Regions from separate parts of the Homo sapiens genome. Here region 2 is linked to region 1. Evidence: promoter capture Hi-C in 16 types of primary human blood cells and fetal thymus (Javierre and others, 2016). All regions are on one chromosome and are shown on one strand. Each heading gives the region's core, a stretch centred on a gene start or on the middle of the fragment in contact. The rest is flanking DNA. Distances are from core to core; before and after follow the strand shown. Region 1 holds the start of CTRL (chymotrypsin like). Region 2 holds the start of TMEM208 (transmembrane protein 208).

What was found. The method cuts DNA at HindIII sites, captures the fragments that hold promoters and counts their contacts. A CHiCAGO score of 5 or more calls a contact.
Region 2: the fragment with the promoter of TMEM208 here is called in contact with the fragment with the promoter of CTRL in region 1 in 2 of 17 cell types (neutrophils and total B cells); the score reaches 6.0 in neutrophils.

What each region holds. Positions count from the first base shown.
Region 1 is chr16:67,930,337-67,933,346 of GRCh38, reverse strand. CTRL (chymotrypsin like) reads left to right here and starts at 1,485. Exons shown (of 7, transcript NM_001907.3): 1 at 1,485-1,546; 2 at 2,146-2,249; 3 at 2,348-2,427; 4 at 2,540-2,621; 5 at 2,759-2,939. The coding sequence starts at 1,495. RefSeq lists enhancers at 1,994-2,510, 2,511-3,010. The HindIII fragment of the contact is 4,510 bases long and covers 685-3,010 here.
Region 2 is chr16:67,225,659-67,228,668 of GRCh38, reverse strand. It overlaps TMEM208 (transmembrane protein 208), which reads right to left and starts at 1,539. Exons shown (of 6, transcript NM_014187.4): 1 at 1,445-1,539; 2 at 738-833; 3 at 255-314; 4 at 38-174. The coding sequence starts at 1,450. It also overlaps the pseudogene FBXL9P. RefSeq lists an enhancer at 1,387-1,736. The HindIII fragment of the contact is 11,037 bases long and covers 1-3,010 here.

The DNA.
Region 1 (3,010 bases), core at 236-2,735:
TGGCGCAATCTCAGCTCACTGGAAGCTCCGCCTCCCAGGTTCACGCCATTCTCCTGCCTCAGCCTCCCGAGTAGCTGGGACTACAGGTGCCCGCCACCACGCCCGGCTAATTTTTTTTTTTTTTGTATTTTTAGTAGAGACGAGGTTTCTACTGAACCTGTTAGCCAGGATGGTCTTGATCTCCTGACCTCATGATCCGCCCGCGTCGGCCTCCCAAAGTGCTGGGATTACAGGCGTGAGCCACCGTGCCCAGCCAATTCATCTCATTTTTTGGCTGATGCTGTTTCTTTGAGATGGGGTCTAGCTCCATCGCCCAGGCCGGAATGCAGTGGTGCACTCATGGCTCACTGCAGCCTTGAACTTAAGGGCTCAAGTGATCCCTCCTGCCTCAGCCTTCTGAGTTGCTGGGACTACAGGTGTGTACCATCATACCCAGCTCATTTCTTAATTTAAAAAAATTTTTTTTGTAGAGACAGGGTTTCATGATGTTGCTCAGGCTGGTCTCGAACTCCTGGAATCAAGCCTCCTACGTCTGCCTCCCAAAGTTTTGGGATTACAGGTGTGAGCCACCACACCCAGCCCTGATCTGTTCTTGAATCAGTTAAAGCCCTCACACTCCCAGAAGGCCGCCAGCCAATGCACCTGTTGGAACTTTGCACACAGGGTGTCTTCTCCCTTCAAGCTTGGTCTGCAGCTCAGTAACAAATGGGCTACAGACACCAGGGGCTTGCCCATGGGAGCCCCAAGGCCTAAAGAGGGTGGCAGAGATTTGATGTCTGTCACTCTCCACCTGCAGCCTCAGTCCACGGTCGGCCAGGCACCAAGAGCTCACACTTTGCCCTCCTAAATGCCAGGCCCTTCATAAGTATCATCTCATTGTTAAGAGCGGAGGCTTCAGCGCCAGACAAATGCGAGTTTGTGTACAACTCAACCACGTGCTGGTGGGAGAGTCACCATCTCTGAGCAGACCTGTGACTCCTGTTCCAAATGGACGAGGAACCACTGCGATGATGTGTTAGGACTCCCAGCCTGCCAGAACCTCACAGCCCCTGGCCCTTCACAGCAAAGTTGACCGCAGTGAGCATTCCATCCACCAGTCAGAACACCCTGGACGCTGAGCGGCCTTCTCTGAAAGCCTGGTGCCTTTGTTAGCCCTGGGTGACTCCTGTGATCCCAGCCACCAGGTTGTCACTATAGACCTAATTTAACCATCTGTCCTCAGTACCGAGGGCTCAACATTTGGAATGGGAGGTGGTTCTGGGAGCCAATTAGAGGCCAGGCTTTGGGAGGTGGCAGAGGTGAGTCTCACACCTGGGCTCTGTCTGATAAGTCTAGGTCTCGGTCAGGGGACCTTGGCCTAAAGGGCCTGTCTTGCCTGGAGCGTGGGAGGGGGCTGAGTCTACACAGCTGGCCTGGCCTCAGGCCTGGAGCTTTAGCTCAAGGACGAGAAGACCCATAAAGCCAGACCCAGCTCCCAACCTCACATCTGCCACGATGTTGCTGCTCAGCCTGACCCTAAGCCTGGTTCTCCTCGGCTCCTCCTGGGGTGAGTGGGCCAGGACCAGCCCTGATTCAGCCCTGGGAGCAACTCAGCTCCCAGCAACAGCCCAGGGAAGGAGCTAGGCTGGCTGGAAGGGACGAAGGTGGACAGAGTGGGCAAAAGAAACAGGATATGCCAGGGCAGTGGAGCAGGGAACAGGCCTGCAGGGCTGGGAGGGGGCAAGAGGTGGGGTGGTCTCACAAATAGGACCAGAGATTGAGCCAGGCCCTGGAGCCCGGGAGGGTTTAGGAAGCTGAGACAGGAAGACCTGTCCATGTCTTTTAGAAAGAACCTTCTGGCTGCATGAAGGGTATGAACTGTTCAGGTCGGGAGGGGGCAGAGAGACCAGGGGTAGAGATGGGGAACAGCGGGGACTAGGCTGGAGACAGATGTAGGAGAACAGCAGGGCTGGGGGACTGGGTGGATAGGGATAACCAAGATAGCTGTGGGGCCCGAAGGTGCTTGCATGTACCCTGTTGGGGAAGGGGTAGTGCTGTACCCTCTCGACAGACCTCTCTGGGGTGCACAGCCTGGGGCACCCAAAAGGAGGTGGGGAAAGATGGGCTGAGGCATGGGAAGCAGGTCCTCATTAGCCCAATGGCCAGGCTGCGGCATTCCTGCCATCAAACCGGCACTGAGCTTCAGCCAGAGGATTGTCAACGGGGAGAATGCAGTGTTGGGCTCCTGGCCCTGGCAGGTGTCCCTGCAGGTACACCACCAGAGGGGTGGGCAGGGTCCTGGGTACGTCATGCCTAGGGGCAGCCTCAGCAGCCCACCCCCACTCTGACCTCTGAGCCCTGACCACAGGACAGCAGCGGCTTCCACTTCTGCGGTGGTTCTCTCATCAGCCAGTCCTGGGTGGTCACTGCTGCCCACTGCAATGTCAGGTGAGTGCCTGCATTCCACCTGCCCCGCCCCTCGCCTCTTCCTGCCTCCTCCCCTGGCTGTCCCCCTCTCGCGCTGGCCTCCCTGCAGCTGCCTAATCCCACCCCCTTGCAGCCCTGGCCGCCATTTTGTTGTCCTGGGCGAGTATGACCGATCATCAAACGCAGAGCCCTTGCAGGTTCTGTCCGTCTCTCGGGTGAGTGCCTGGGCTGCAGACACGGAGGAAAAGTGGGCAGTGCAGGTGGGTGGGTGCTGGGAACGAGGAATTCAGGACATGCCCTGGCCTACCCTGCTCAGCACCCATCAGAACATGGACTGTTTCTGACCCCACAGGCCATTACACACCCTAGCTGGAACTCTACCACCATGAACAATGACGTGACGCTGCTGAAGCTCGCCTCGCCAGCCCAGTACACAACACGCATCTCGCCAGTTTGCCTGGCATCCTCAAACGAGGCTCTGACTGAAGGCCTCACGTGTGTCACCACCGGCTGGGGTCGCCTCAGTGGCGTGGGTAGGGACTCAGGCCAAAGCTCAGGGTGGGAGGACTGGGGTGGGGACCAGTGTTCTGGGCCCCATGTGACC
Region 2 (3,010 bases), core at 290-2,789, 700 kb after region 1:
GGGCCGCTCACCTGGGCTGGCGGTGGGGGACACTCACTCTGCCATGCCCTGCTCCATGTTGAGGTCCATGCCACCATCCATCAGGGCCCCATCCTCAGAGAACGCTGCTCGTGCCATCGAGCTCATAGAGTGGTAGCTGGCCCCATACACTGCCAGACTAAAGCCCAGGGCCAACTGCAGAGCAAGAATGAGGGTATCAAAGGCCAGCCACTGACCCTACGCACTCATCCACCTCCCAGGATGGAGATACTTACCCAGGCCCAAAATGAGGCAGATGAGTAAAAGAAGACCAACGTCACAAGGCAGTAAATGGCCTGCAAGCAATCACAGGATCAGGTTGGGGTCAGAAGTTACCTCCAAACCATGGGTCTCCCTCAACTCTGACCAAGAATTAGGCCAGGCTGTGGGAGGAGCAAGGTTGTTCTTACAGGGTTGAAGAAAGGGCCCTGCTCCCTGAATCCCAAATACCCACTCTCCTCTGACACCCAACTCAGCCCAGGAAAGAAGCCTTTGTGTACTTGGAGGTAGGAAGAGCTCTCAAATTCAGCTACGACTCACGCCTTCATTTTCTTTGTGTTTTACTAGTTAGCACTTTCTCTGTGCCCAGATCTCTCATTTCTTTTTGACTGGAGCTCTCTTCTAGAGCTTTTTCGGGTACCACTCCTCGTCACCAAGCAGGGCTGAGGACTAGGGAACTGACTATAAGTGGGCATAGAAGCAAGGAGGTAGGCACTTACATTGGCCCCCAGTATGATCCGCAGGTAGAACTTCAGAGTCTCTCTGTTCTCTTCAAATATCTGCTTCTTCCCTCTCGTGCCCACTTTGCCCTTGGGCTGCAGAGGAATGATGAGATGCCGTCAGGAGGCCACGGTCCTCCTCATTCTCCCCACCAGCCTGGTGAGCTATAGAGCTCCATCCGCAACTCAGCCAGGTCCCCGTAGTGCAGAAACCTAGCAAAATCCCTGGGATGTCCACCCATCCTCCAGTCCATTCTGCCTAGGGCTGACGCCATCTCTCCAGCACCCGCAGCTAGGATCAATCGCCTCTTGCTCGCCCTGGAACAATTCAATCCTAAGCTAATACCGCCTCTGGATCCCGTGGTAGTCTGGCTTTAGGCTAACGACTCTTCCAAGGGTACTCCTGAGCGGAGTTGAATGGTGCCTCTCTCAGGCCTCCGCTGGCGTAGTCCCGATCTGGGTTAACCCCCACCTCAGGTCACTTAGATCTCTGGCCTGCCCTGGTACTGATGCCCACCCCGCTCTGGCACTAGTCCTGGTATGGTCCTGCGCCGCCATCCCCCCAGCCCAGCTCTAGCACGGTCTGGCCAGGGATGGCGCCCCGCTCTGGCCCACCCCATATCCCTTAATGTTCTTTCTCAGTTTTCACTCTCACAGCCCCTGGAGAGCTTTGCTGGTGCGGACCCCGCCCTATCCATCCTCCTTACCGCCATGGTGCGAGGCAAATACCCAGCCCGGGAAACACGGGAGAGCGACCGAAACCGCAATCACTAAGCACCACATCGGCAGCTCATGCACTTCCGGCGCAGACCGAAGTCGTCAGCTTTTGCGACGGAAATAGGTCTCACTTCCTTCCCAAGCCCCGCCCCAAAGAGGCGAGACTACATTTCCCAGAAAGCCTTGCGCAGTGGGGGCGGAGGCGGCAGGGATGCGATGGCGGAGTCGCTGCCCCTGGAGGTGAGAGGAAGCCGCCCTCAGGCCTAGCTCTGGACAGGCCCCGCCCTCGCGGTCCTGAGCTTTGGGGAGGGGCTGTCAGATAGCTAGCCCGGCCCCTCCAGCCTGGCGGAAACGACCCGCCCTCCCGATCCCGGGACCTTCTAGCTCTGGGTAACGGTTCCTCCTTTGGGCCACTCTGTCCCTTTAGCTTGGGGGACCGTCCTCCCCTTCCCTATCGGCCCCAGAAGATAGCTGCCCTGTCATCTCCGCGAGAACAGGCCCTCTGCCCATCCCCTTCCCTTGAAGTGGCTGTCTCCTCCCCGCTCAGTTCTGGAAGATGTCCGCTCCATCTCATCGTCCCGAAGGGTAACTGATCTTATCCCCATTGGTCCCTTGGGATGATCTCTCCATTTCCTACAGAGACGGCCGCCCCTTCTCCCTGGCAGTGGGAAACAGACTGCTCCCTCCCCATCAACTGCAATGATCTCTGAGTTCCTTTAACAAGGATAGGCCTGTTCCCCATTCCTAGGCCCCTAGTGATGGCCGCCCTTACCTCTTTCACTCCGTGGGATGTTTGCTCCTTCCCCTTAGCCAGGGGCAAGACCACTCTGCCCCATCTGCCAGGGAGATAACAGGTTTTGTCTTCAGTGGCCTGTTGGAATGGCTTCTCCATCTCTTTTGTCCTGAGGGTTGGCAGCCCCCTCTCTCTGCCCATGGGAAACAGGCCACCCTTTCCCATCGGTCCTGGAATGATGCTCCTGTCCTTAGCAAAAATAGGCCTGTTCCCACCCCTATTGAGCTTGCAGTGCTATCCCTTTCCCCCTTAGCTTTAGGGGCTATCTATTTCCATCCCCATAGACCCCATGAGTGACCAATCATTATCTCCAGTAGCCCCCTTGAGATGGGACTCATGGGATGGTCACTCCATCCTCATCACTGCCTCCTCTTGTCCCTCTAGAAAGGCCACCCTCTTCTTAGGTCAATGAATTGTGTCCCTTCCCGACTCACCCCAAGGGATGACAGGTTTGTTCCCCTCTCCCTTTGCTCTTGGGCTGGCTGCTTAGCCCCAGAAGACAGGATGGCCACTGTCTTAACTCAGCTCAAACAGGCTTCCGTGCCTCCCTGGAGGGATTGGGACTTGGTCAGTCCCAGTCCCCATCAATACTGTCTTCCCTATGCCTCCCTTCCTGGCCCAGAAGTCTATTCTGCCAGTCATTGTCCTCTCAGTAATGACTGCTTTATTTCCCCGACCCCTTCCCTGAGCATACTCTTGGTGAAAATAGAGGTAGAGGACTGGACTGTCCAACCTTAATTTAATCCAGTAAGCACTGGCTGAG